Regions from separate parts of the Homo sapiens genome. Here all the other regions are linked to region 3. Evidence: promoter capture Hi-C in human tissues and cell types (Jung and others, 2019). All regions are on one chromosome and are shown on one strand. Each heading gives the region's core, a stretch centred on a gene start or on the middle of the fragment in contact. The rest is flanking DNA. Distances are from core to core; before and after follow the strand shown.

Region 1 (4,089 bases), core at 1,192-3,691, 1.5 Mb before region 3:
AGTGTATATTTTTTAAAATTTCTCTAATTGAGATTTCCTTTTTAAATTATATTACCAAATGCTGGTGGGGCTACAGTGAGAAGGCAAAGCTTCCATTTAGTGGAGAAACATAAATGATGTAATATTTCTGGGAAAGAATTTAGGAATATAGAACAGGGGCTTGAAGCATTTATTTAAATGACATGATCCATTTTAAGAGTCCACACTAAAGTCAGACCCATTATTGTGTAAAGATTCTTACAATAGCTTAACTTGGAAGAGGTAAGCCTGGAAACAACTTTGTAAGTATAGTAACAGTAGCATACTTAAATAAATTATAATGTATTCAAACATAGACTATCAAATAACTATAAAAGTAATATTTAGGCCAGGTACAGTGGCTCATGCCTGTAATTGCAGCACTTTGGAAGGCCAAAGTCGGAGGATCCTTTGAGTCCAGGCATTTGAGACCAGCCAGGGTAACTTAGCGAGACCCTATCTCTACAAAAAATACAAAAATGAAGTGGGAGGATGACTTTAGCCTGGGAGGTTAAGGCTGCAGTGAGCCAAGATCATGCCAATGTACTCAACCTGGGGGACACAGTGAGATCTCGTCTCAAGAAAAGCAAAGTAATATTTAGTAATATACAAAAATATGTGAATTAACTTATATTAAAAAATGTAATTTGCACTATGAACTCAAAATATATGAAGTTTAATACAATAAAGAACCCTAAAGATAATCAATAAAATGTTATTTTTTGAATAAAGTGCTTATGGCTGGCTAATTTTTGTTTTATACTTATTTTTTTTCTACTTTGTAAATTTTCACTAGTGAAAGGCGTTACTTTTACAGCTAGAATATTTTTAAAAGTTTGTTGTTCAGCAACTGACACTCTTAAGATTGAATAACAAAGGGCTGGGCACGGTAGTTCATGCCTGTAATCCCAGCACTTTGGGAGGCTGAGGTGGGTGGATCACCTGAGGTCAGGAGTTAGAGACCAGCCTGGCCAACATGACAAAACCTTGTCTCTACTAAAAATACAAAAAATTAGGCGTGGTGGCAGGTGCCTGTAATTCCACCTACTCAGAAGGCTGAGGGAGGAGAATTGCTTGAGCCCGGGAGGCAGAGGTTGCAGAGAGCAGAGATCACGCCATTGCACTCCAGCCTGGGCAACAAGAGTGACACATTGTCTCAAAAAAAATAAATAAATAAAAATGAAAAAAAAATTGAATAACAAAAATTCTTCCTCACTTCATGAGCAACTATTAAAATTAAATTAAATTTTAATTTAATTAAATCATAATTAACAATTAAAATGTAGTATTCTCAGAAAAGCAGATTACATCAATTTCTTTACACAAGACCCGAAAGATATGTTCTGGGAAGTTGACAGATACCCTGTACTTTTTGTTTAATTTTCCATTTTTACTTAGTTAAAAATCAAACCAGTACTGACATTTAAAAAATACTACACTCAATCACATAACTGGGGTGCTCTCTCCTTGGGACAGCAGGGATAGGGGACAGTGAGAGGAGTGAATGTCTCCCTCTCCATGAGCAAGCTTTCCACTCACAGTAGTCCCCCTTCTTGTTGCGATGGACGCATTTTCTGCTCCTCCGACCTGTGAACGCACAGCCTGGTAGCCCTCTGGAGCCCTGTTGCCCATCCCCATCTCCTTCTTTACACTCTGGGCATCCTCTTCCAGATCGGTGTCATCCTTCAACAGGTTTTCCTTCTCATTTTCCTTCAAGCTATTTGTTCCATTTTTTTTTTCCGTGGAAGGGTCCTTCCATCTTTCCCTTGGCTGTTATGTTTCTTCATTTAATGTTTTTAATGGGATCCCACGAAGGAAAGGATATAGCACACGAGAGCTGAGTTAACAACTGATATGGTTTGGCTCCGTGTCCCACCCAAATCTCATGTTGAGTTGTAATCCCTAACGTTGGGGGAAGGACCTGGTGGGAGGTGACTGGATCATGGGGGTTTCTAATGTTGCCCTTGTAACATATATTTCCCAACAAGGGGATCAAGCTTGTAGCTCTGTTGAAGAAACTGACTCTATTATATACCACCAAAATATTTTTAAAATACAAAGAGAATCTATCATAATTTTTGAAGAATAAGTACCTCATTCTGATATGAGTGCTTTTCTTTTGAACATTAATCACTAAGTGAAAAGATAAAGTATAAATATTAATTATCACTCACTAGGATTTTAGGTCCGTCAGAGCAGGGTTTCATCTGACATGCCCATCACTGTTTCTAACTGCCTCAAACAGCGAATGGCACAAGGCAGATACTTGATACATAATAATCAAATATGCCTGATAAAAATTTCTAACTGGAGGTTAAGGAAGCCTCTGAAGTCACAGAAGAAATCAGGTTAGAAAGTTAATGATCTTCCCCACAGTTCTTGCTATGCTGAGACTAAGCCACATAATTTTCATTTCTTCCTAAACATCCTCAGAGAATAAGAGTGAGGTGAGGCTGGCGAAGACAGATGACCCCAAAGCGCTTCTGAGCCACCCTTGCTTTGGAGAGCAGAGCTTCAACTCAGAGCTCAGAGCTGCAGGCTCAGAGGTCTAAGAATCTCCCCTCCCAGCCACTCCCCAGAATGAACCCCCTGCCCATCGTGGCTTCAGCTCCTGCCCAGCACTCAAAGTAGCTCTGCCGGTAACACCGGCAGACAATGGAATTGCAGGAAGGGATAATATTTGTTCCAGGGATGGTGGCCTAAACAACCTGAAAAGCAAAAAGAAAAAGTAAGTTTCTCAAGAGCCAGGGCATAGATGAAGCTGTCTCTTCACACTAAATGCACCACCATGTTTTTCTTATAACTTGAGTGTGTCTTTCTTCCTTATAGACCCAACTTGTCTAAAGCATCTGGCTTCCTGGGAATGGCTAATATTTTATATCCACTTGTATTTCTGTGTAAATGGAAATCAGAAAATGTCTAGAAATTCAGGTATAAAGCAGGGAGACAATACAACGGGGAAATGACCAGAGCCTTTGCGTGCTTTGTTGGTGCTTTGTCTTCCTTTCCACTTAAGTCTATAGTGTGTGGGGATAAAACATATGCAAGCCAGCAGAGGACTGACACGTTCCTATTGACATAGTAGGAAAGCTCCCTTTCTCCAACCTGCTGACCCTCAGAATACTACCAAGGATGTCTGTCCCAGGCTTTCTGGGAGTAAATTGAGGCTAAATGTGAGTCTCTGTGGAGAGGAGATGGTCATAATTTTTCTCACGTTGCATATGATTGCATATCATTTGTTCTACTTCAAATTACATATAATGGAAAACCTTTTATCTGTACAGTCCTCTGTAGGTTGCTCAGAGGAAAAATGCAGACAAGACAGATGATAAATGCATAGATAATCAAATAGGGAGAATCTGCTTCTCGTTCTTTCACTCATAGAAAGGCGTGACAGTTAGAGCTGTGTGGAACTACCAATTTTCACATTCTTTGCATTCACTTGAAAACTTAGCTTTTATAGTAATTTGAAAACTTAATCCAAGGCATGGTATTTCCACCAGCAAACAAATTAAACAAGGAATATAGCTCTGAGTTTTCATGAGCTCTCACTAACATTGCTTGCAGTACATACAAAATAAGCTTCTGAATATTAGTCTCAATCAATTATTTAAAACAGAATTATATTTCAAATGCAATCGAATCAAGCTACTAAAGAACTTTTACTGTCAGTTTTAAAATGAATAATCTATCTCTGGTTTATCAATATTTTAATCAGATTTGCATATACATCTTGTTAAATGTATTACTTTCTGAGTTTTCTATGTCTTTCTATATTTTTATCTCTATAAAATTCTCTCTTATTTTACTTCCTCTATGACGGTAAATAGGGAATGGGTCTTCTTCCTTGACATACACATTCTCTAATCGAATGAAATGTAGATTTATGCACCCATTTTCTCTAATATTTAATAATAAATCTCTACATGGGGTTATAGGGAGAAAGCCAAGGCATGATGTCCCACACAGGTCCCTGAACACTCCTCTTCATGCTGACTCGGTCTCTCACAGACCCTTCACTGTGTGGAATAACATGTCCCTTTCGGTGAATCAAAGAGTAGTATAGTGTTG
Region 2 (4,481 bases), core at 1,604-4,103, 1.8 Mb after region 3:
TGATAACCCTGTGGGTTTTTAATTATATCCTATATCCTACCAATTGTTACTACTGCTGCAAAAATTCCCAGTCTGTACTCAGTGCTTTCATTTCTAGAGCTGTTCGACAAGGCTTCACGGGCATCACATAAGCCTCAGACATGGCTTGTTGGTATCGACTGTTGCCTCTAGAGGGGGAAACAGACGTGGAGAATCTCATCTGCTTCTCTAGGGTCAGCAGTAACACAGGATTTGAAGCCCCTGGTGTGTGTGTCATGATCCTTAGCTAGGATTCATTTCCTCAAAATGAAGTCATTTTCTAAAGAGAATTATTTCGCATTTTGGTAATTGGAGGTGTCACTATAACCAGAATTGCAATTTTAGTGCTTCTGTGTTGGGGTAATTTGGGACTTAAATTTTACTTCATTATGTTTCATTATAAATATTTCTACTGTCAAAACAGAGTTCAGTTGGCAGTCTTTGCCCAGAAGCATCTCAGAACTAATTTAGCATGAGGAATTTAAAGCTGTCTTTCTCCAGCCTTGTTTTCTAGGTCGTCCTGGAAGCAACAAGAACAGGAGGATGGAGGCACACAGCATTCACGGCTCCCAGCATGCACTTTAATCTTCTCCCCAGCACAATTATCTTACTAGGCACTGAAAAATCTATTACCCCGATTTATAGCAGCTCTGGAATCATAAGAAAGCACAAATTGTTCCCATTTTGATTGGAAAAGATAAACTGCAATCACTTCGGAAGGAAGCTTAACACGGGAAGCTCTTGTCAACCGAGTGATTTTAGTTGGAGAATAAAGAGCTGGTCACAGAAGACAGCAGAGGAAGAAACAGTTTCTAGGGTATCATGGTTCTGATCACAAGTGAGGCTGTACGTGCTCACTTGCACAGGCTGGAAAGAATATTGCCAAATGTGAATTTAGCAAGATTAATAAATGACTCATATATTGTATGTCATGTTCATATTAGCGACAATGAAACAGATTGCAAACACCAAGTAAAGTGATTAACACAATATTTGCCATGCCCAGAGAAGCCAGAAATACTATTAGAGTTCCCTCTTTGATTTTAAGCTTGGGTGTTAAGAATACAGGCTAAAATATTAAGCAAACATTTGCCCCATTCCAGGGCATACGGCTTAGGGAAAGGAGTAGCAAAACTAGAGAAGTGTTAAGTGCTTCAGTCTTACAGGAAGACAATTTTTAAAAAAAAATTTTAGAAACAACCTGTCGCCCAGGCTGCAGTGCAGTGGTGCCATCATAGCTCACTGCAGCCTTGGCCTCCTGGGCTCAAGTGATCCTCCCTCCACAGTCTCCAGAGTAGTTGGGACTACAAACACATACCACCAAACAGCAAATTTTTAAAAACCTGTATTTTGTAGAGACGGGGTCTCACTATGTTGCATAGGCTGGTCTTAAGCTCATGCCCTCAAGCAATTCTCCTGCCTCGATCTCCAGATTGAGCACTGGAGTTACAGTTGTGGCCAACACACCAGCCAGAAGACAAATTTTAGAGTAAGCAACGGAAGCTGCAGAGAACATTAAAGGGAACACGGAACTAAGAGTACAAGGACCTAGGTTTGAGTATCTACCTGTCTATCCAAAATGGCTATACCACTTAAAATAAGCCATTTGGATTTTCTGGGTCTTAATTTTGTCATCAGTAAAGTGAAGATAATTAAAAACTTTCCTCTCTACAAAACAAAGTTAGAAAAAAATGCTGTAAAACCATGCGCAAGGTTCTTAGAAGTCTGCATATTAGCTTTGTTTGACATTTAAGGGTTGGAAGAAAATTATCTAATGTAAATTTAATTTTTTATAAATGCAATTGTTCTTAAAGAGACTGTTCACTCAGATTCTTGCCCTGTACACAGTCGAGGCAGTTGTGCAGGCAGAATACATAGTGAAAATAACCGAAGTCAGGACACCTGAATTACTTTCCCAGCTCTGCCACTGACTAGCTATGAAGTCTGAGCGCATCACAGCCACTTTAGATATGAATTGAGTCATCTAGAAAGTGAAAGAACTGGACTAGGTGTTTCTAATGCCCTTTCCAGTTCTAAGATTTTATAAAGGACTTTTTTTTTTTCCATCTGTTGTTCTTAGTTACAGATACCTCTGATCCCTTCCCATGTTCAGGGATCTTGTTTATTTCAACTCCACTGGAAGCAGCAGGGCAGAGAGGACCACTGAAAGCGAAAGAATGAATTTATTTTCTTCTTCATTTCCGAGGTCCTATTATAATTCATGGGACGTGAAAAGGGGGATGATTAAATTCAGGATTTCTGATTTCTTGATAGAAGATTATTTGGAAGGAAATTTGACTTTGCCACGCGTCGCAAACTCCTGAAAGTGATCATATTTGAGCTGACTGGTTGTATAAACCTGTGTTCAATAAAAGCATATCGATTGGGCAAAGCAGTCTTCCAAAGCTGAGAGAAAGGATGCAGAGAGCATGAGGCGGGGTAAGAGTACTCCTCAGACTTCAATAATGTATTGTTAACTGGTGTAATCTTCTGAGAAAGTGCAAGACCTCAAATTAACAGCACTGAATTGAGTCTAATAACTACATTTCACAACATCATATCTACTCCTCAATCAATACTTAATTTTCTCATACAGCCCTCGGCCTCCTGCAAGCTTTTATTGTGTTTTGCAGAGAATAGCATTGACCTCGAGGAATGCTGGTCACTTACAACCCTAATACCCCCAAAAAGCCAAAGGCATCTTGAAATATTCCCGAGACAAATACAGGCTAAAATGCACACCCAGGATAAAAATTGTTCTACCACATTCATTTCCATATTGTGTCAGATCTGTCTGATCTTCATCTTACTGGAAGCCTAAAGTGACTCAGGTTTGGAAATCAGCCTGCACTTTTAGAAGTAACTTTAAGAGACTTGGCTTGAAGTCACATGAGTCAAATCAGCAAATTCATACTCTGAGTCGCTTTTTGCTGCCTAAATTTCATATTCTACAATCCTGGAGCTTTGATCACAGAAGTTCAGCAAGTCTAGAGGGAAAATGACTTTTTCCATTTCAGTTAACAAAGATTACTCTGGAGTGTGGCAGGAGGATTAACTCTGAATCTTTGGGGACTTTCTTAATATTTTGCTCCAGCATCTCATTGTTGTACATTACATAGCACAGGTATTATTCGGGATAGGAAGAGGATTTTCCAAAATAAATAATCTTTTTTCTACTTACTCATTCAATTCATAAATCAGGTGCTGAGTTGACATTCCTTCCAAAGATAAATAATGTGAAGGGGGCAGCTGTCTCTTCACATTTCCCAAAATGTTCTTTGGCAATAATCAAGTGTTGCTCTTCCCAGGGTCTGGTTAAATACCACTTTAACATTTCTATTTATATGAGGTTTCTGTTGTCAATATCACAAATTACCACGAACTTGTCCACATCCAGCAGGAAAATGGGTGCATCCTTGTCCCAGCCTTTCCAGAATAATTATTGAGATTCATTATGATTAAATTGGCTCAGGTTGCACGATCCCCCCTGAACCAGTCCCTGAGAGCAGGGTAGATGGCTTAACCAGGACATCATGTTCCAATCCTGGATCCAGACAGAAAGCACAGCTCTTTCACCAGGATAAGTGTAAATGGATCTTGGGTAGCAAAAACATTGTGCAATTGCTGGACATTACTGTATTTAAAACTTTTCACCAGCTTCATTATAAACTTATGAGTGCATTGTATTCTTAACTATTACTTCATTGTTGGACATTTTAGATTGTTTCTAGTGGCTTATTAATAAAAAGTAGTTGCCCAAACAATAACTTTGCCCTGGAATATTCTTTTTATTTAAGATCGTTTTCCTAAAATATATCTGCAGCAACAGAACTATTGAGTTAAAAGAATAAACCCTTTCAAGTCTCTTAACACACATTGCCAAATTTCTTTCCAGCAAGCATTTTTCACTTTATTTTTCTGCTACCATTCTGTGAGAATTTCCACATCGGTGCACTCTTTCCCAACATGAAGCATATTCGTCTTCCTTCATCTGTGCCAATTTGAGAGGTTCAAAGAAGACCCAGAGGGAGCTTGATAAAATCAACGGATCTGATCATGTGACTTTGCTGTATACAGGATTTCAATGACATCCTGCTGCCTTGAGGACCAAAGTCCAAACTCCCTGGGATGATGCACAAGGCTTTCTAGGATGTCAGCCCCAGTGGTCTCCCCACCTTTGTCTCTGCTGCTTTCCAATCCAGCCCTGGAAAACTGAACAACTTAGAATTCCTCAGACTCTGCATCTGCATTCATATTTCTACGTGTTTGCATACACTCTTTCTTTCTCTCCTTATCATTCTATTTCCAATCCAAGAATTCCCTCAACCTGTACATAACATCTAATTCAGGTCTCCATCACACAGTATTGCATTAACCCTTTGCATGATGACCCTTTCCCATACAAAAATATTTTCTGTGGCGGGGGCCAAAAATATATATTTTTGTGCAAATACTAGGCCCTG
Region 3 (4,363 bases), core at 519-3,018:
TCTACCAAGCAGCACTTCTCCAAACTTTTCTGACCCTCTTATTATCCTGACAAAAGAACCGGTGAACCACTTATCCCAGCTGTTTTCCTCCCACTCATCCTATAAAAAGTAAACACACTCCACAGCTGAATGAAAAGCATTATTACTTTGTAATAAAGCCCCAAATGAGTTGATAGCTGTCATTGTTCTAAGTCTTTAAGTTATTAATACAACGACAACTATATAACTCCAGTTACCGGGAGGGAATTCAGTACCTGATCCTCTTCTGATTCACAAAAGATGTGCTGTACTCCAGAGTGGTGCTGAAGAACACACACCAGGAATCAAGATTCCCAGGGGTTTCTAAGCAGATTCGGCCAGACTCCCCCTCGTTACTTCCAAAATGCTACCTCAATAATCAGAAAGCACGATAAAGGATCCAGAAGGGAAGGGACATTGTGGGGAGGAGGATGAGTGTTTAGTGTAGAAAGGAGGATAAGATAGCCAGGGGCTGATCAACGAGAGATCAGCATACAGTAGGATTAGTCAGGGATGCTGGGAGATGGATCTTGAATAACGGTGAAATTTTATTACTGGATTTCAGTAAAGGGTTAAAAGTACAAAAGTTAAACTTTAAAGACTTTAAACAGAATGCTTTTAACGAGAGACAACATACTTTCAAAAAAACTACCTTCTGGTATGATACCTTGAATCTACAGATTTTAAAGTTGCCTAAGGCAAAAAACTAAGTAATTTTTAAAAACCGTCGTATGTTTTCAGGTTTAAAAAAAAAAAAGTCGCATATTTTCATAAGGTCTGAGAAGCTCGCCAAAACCAAACCTAACTGAATTCTCCTTATGTAAACGAAGACTAAGCCACAAGATTCAATGACCCTAAGCAAACACGCTGCAGAAGACCGTTTAAAAATAGAATACACAAAACTACCACAGGAAACAATTCCGGAAGAGGACTGGGTTATCTTCTGGAAACCCAGCTTTCGTGCTTAAAGACAAACTATTCTTCCCCAAACCAAATCTCCCGATCCCTAAACATTAAGTTCTCACATGTCAGTTGCCTATCTGGTGTCTCCACCCCACCCCAATGATAAAAGCTGTAAAATTCTCTTTAAAAACGTCAGGCTGGGACCGGTGTCCGAGGCACGAGGGGTAGGCAGAGGAAGGCGGCGTGGAGGGAAGGAGCCTGGGGGGTCCGGCCTGGCAGCGCCGAAGCGAGAAGGAAGGGGAGTCCCTGGGGCCAAAGGGGGACCCAGGCTTCCCCAGGCAGCCGCGCCGGGCACGCTGCTTTTGTTGAGCTGGGGGGACCACGGCCCAACCTGGGGTCCGGGCCCTCGCCCGCCCAGCGACCCTGGCACTGTGCGCCGTTGAGTCCCCTTGGCGGGCGCCCGTCCCTCCCGCGCCTGGCTCTGACCTCTGCCCACCCCGGTGCTGCCCACCCCGGCCCGGACTCGGCCGCAGAGCGGGGCTTTGGCCTGCCGGGCTCCGAGACTGTGTCCCCACCCGCGTCCCCGGCCGCCCGCGCCCCCGCGCCCGGGCCCTCGGGGGCCGCCTCACCTGCATGCCCGGAGCCCCCGGGTCGACCCCCGTGTCCAGGACTGCGATGAGCACCCCCCGCCCATCATACTCCGGGTAGCGGCAGAGGAAGGAGGCGGCTCCGGTCTCCTTCTTCGGCAGGAGACCGTGAAAAGGGAAGGGCTCCTCAGTCGCAGCGGTGGCCATGGACGCAGGATGGAGGACGAGGAAGCGGCAAACTGCCAGGCTGCGCGCGGACTAGCAGCGCGAGGACACCCGTGCGGCCTCGGGCCGGAGGCGGGGGCGAGGGGCGGGGTCGGCCCGTCTTCCACCAATCCCGGCCTGCCAGGGAGCGGTGGCCAATCACGTGCTGCTACGTAAGCCAACGGCGCCGCTCTCAGGAGCTAGGCCCGAGTATTGCCCGGGCTGCAGTGAAGGGGGAGGAGTCTGAGGACATTACTGGAGGGTTCGGATCTCGAACCTGGGGCCTTGAAGAGGCCCGCGCTTGGGGTTTTTAGGCAACAGCAGGCCTCCAAGCAGAGTCCTGGTGTCCCGGACCGAATCACTCCCCGAGAGACGGGCAAGGAGATGGACCGCCAGCCAGGAATAATGGGAACCCTTCGCTTGGCAAACGATAGTTTCCAAACTTAAGGTTGTGGATGAAACTTTTTGGTGCGGCTGCTGCAGGAGCCCCAGCCCCGGGGTGCTGCTGACCCGAGGCAAGGGAGCCGGCGCACTCACGCTTAGCCGCTAAGGAGTCTGCGGTGTCGGCGAAAGCTCCGGACATGATTTTGGAAGGTCGTAGGTTAAGGGGTGTAGACTTTGGGTTCCCCTGTGTTGTTATGCCCCTTTGATGGGGGTGAGGTGGTGAGGGGGAGCAATAGGGTGGAGACAGGCAATAGTTTCAGTCAACAGGAAGTGGGTTGTTGGTCATTCCGTCGCCTTTGTAGCCAGTAACAAAGCACGAGACTGAAATGGGCCCCTCCTATCCTCTGCTGATCCTTAGCTTCCGGGATTTCTGAAAAACATCTTTTTTTTTCCTCTTACACTGAAGTTTCTGATTGCTCCTTACGGCTGTCCACTCAATTATAGAGCCATAATTTTCAGTTTTCCAGATTCACAGTGCCTGCCGTCAGTTGCTGCAAGCTGCATAGTGGTCCTCTAATGATCTTTATGTCTATGCTCATGCCAGGGTAATCTTAGCCTTTTATTGTGCCGAAGACCCCTTTGGCAATCTGGTGAGGCCTATTTCTCAAGCAGTGTTTTAAAATGCATACAATGAAATAGATAGGATTACCCAGGAAATAAATTATGTTTAAATGCAGTTATCAAAAATACTAAAGGCAATTTTGTTATATAGCAGGAGCTTTACGTGTGTGTGTATAGTTACAGGTGTACTTCTTTTGCATTAAATAACAGGAGCTAGGGCCAAGGCTAATAAACTACCATAACTTCAAAATAGTGAAGAATATAATTATTTGGAGATAGCGGTGAAAACTGCACTACGATGAACTGATTTTTATTGGTGACATAACAGCATAACTACCCTGGTTTTTGCCTACATTCATACTTGATGTGAAAAAAATTAAGAGGTTTGTATCTTTTTTCTACGGAAGTTTTTGAACCCCTTGGATTCTGTCTATGGACACCAAGTTAAGAATACCTGGTATAAAGGAAAGCCTTATGCATGCGGTTTCCAACCCACAGAATTTCAGAGATCCTCCATTAAGTCTCAAAAATTATTCTTATGGCTGTGCAATGGTTTCAGCTGATTCCTTGATCATTTATTCAGTCCATAAGTCTTACACAAGCATGTTCTCTTTAGTGCAGAGGAAAAAGAAAAGTTGAATGTTTTTCTTCTTATTCCCAACTGTTTACATTACCTCTAGAAAAGAATTTCAAATTAACACAGACGAAAACAGAATAACAAACTCGCAGAAGACATTCAGTATAGAGCTTATAGTGATAGAACAGAATGGCTCCCAGTTTCAAGTGAACCATAGTCCAATCACTTCATTTTATAGATGAAGAAACAAAGTTAACTGACTGTCATGGATTACAAAACAGGTTGATGAAAACACGGGATTTGTCTTCTCACAATCTCTCCCCAGTATGTTCTACCACACCATGTGCATGACTTTGCCAGAGTATCACCCAATGAATAAATGGGGAATGAACAGTTTATTATGAAACCTAGGTGGCAGACTTTTTATTAGACTGCCGTAACAATGTTCTTTAGATTTTTCTTTTCCTTTCCTTTTCTTTTTCTTTTTTGACACAGAGTCTCACTCTGTGGCCCAGGCTGGAGTGCAATGTCACAATCTCGGGTAACTGTAACCTCCGCCTCCCGGGTTCAAGCAGTTCTCCTGCCTCAGCCTCCCGAGTAGCTGGGATTACAGGTGCATGCCACCACACCTGGCTAGTTTTTGTATTTTTAGTAGAGACGGGGTTTCGCCATGTTGGCCAGGCTGGTCTTGAACTCCTGACCTTAGGGGATCCACCCACCTCGGCCTCCCAAGGTGCTCAGATTACAGGCATCAGCCACTGCACCCGGCCAGATTTTTCTTTTTTTGCTTACATATCCCATAAACATGTTTTTAAAAAAGTTATGTATCCCTTTGTACAGCTGTAAAATGAAGTCTAAATTTGTCACAATTTTTTTTTTTTTTTTTGAGATGGAGTTTTGCTCTTCTTGCCCAGGCTGGAGTGCAATGGCGGGATCTCGGCTCACTGCAACCTCCACCTCCCGGGGTTCAAGTGATTCTCCTGCCTCAGCCTCCCAAGTAGCTGGGATTACAGGCATGTGCCACCACACCCAGCTAATGTTTGTATTTTTTTAAATAGATACGGGGTTT

Evidence for each region. The method cuts DNA at HindIII sites, captures the fragments that hold promoters and counts their contacts. A contact is called where the count stands out against the background at its distance.
Region 1: a contact is called between a fragment that was not itself captured here and the fragment with the promoter of TPP2 in region 3, in 1 of the 25 tissues and cell types used here (mesenchymal stem cells).
Region 2: a contact is called between a fragment that was not itself captured here and the fragment with the promoter of TPP2 in region 3, in 1 of the 25 tissues and cell types used here (mesenchymal stem cells).

Annotation. Positions count from the first base shown.
Region 1 is chr13:104,131,556-104,135,644 of GRCh38, reverse strand. It overlaps LOC105370340 (a long non-coding RNA gene), which reads right to left. Exons shown (of 3, transcript XR_931689.2): 3 at 1,357-2,726. Among named protein-coding and RNA genes, the nearest start is that of LINC01309, 710 kb to the right of the region's middle. The HindIII fragment of the contact is 3,247 bases long and covers 818-4,064 here.
Region 2 is chr13:100,824,135-100,828,615 of GRCh38, reverse strand. All of the region lies in intron 2 of NALCN-AS1 (NALCN antisense RNA 1), which reads right to left. Among named protein-coding and RNA genes, the nearest start is that of LINC00411, 120 kb to the left of the region's middle. The HindIII fragment of the contact is 3,897 bases long and covers 905-4,481 here.
Region 3 is chr13:102,594,391-102,598,753 of GRCh38, reverse strand. It overlaps TPP2 (tripeptidyl peptidase 2), which reads right to left and starts at 1,768. Exons shown (of 30, transcript NM_001330588.2): 1 at 1,551-1,768. The coding sequence starts at 1,715. It overlaps LOC107984588 (a long non-coding RNA gene), which reads left to right and starts at 1,812. Exons shown (of 2, transcript XR_001749984.3): 1 at 1,812-2,306; 2 at 4,353-4,363. RefSeq lists silencers at 1,255-1,544, 1,705-1,994 and enhancers at 2,065-2,124, 2,175-2,334. The HindIII fragment of the contact is 8,618 bases long and covers 1-4,363 here.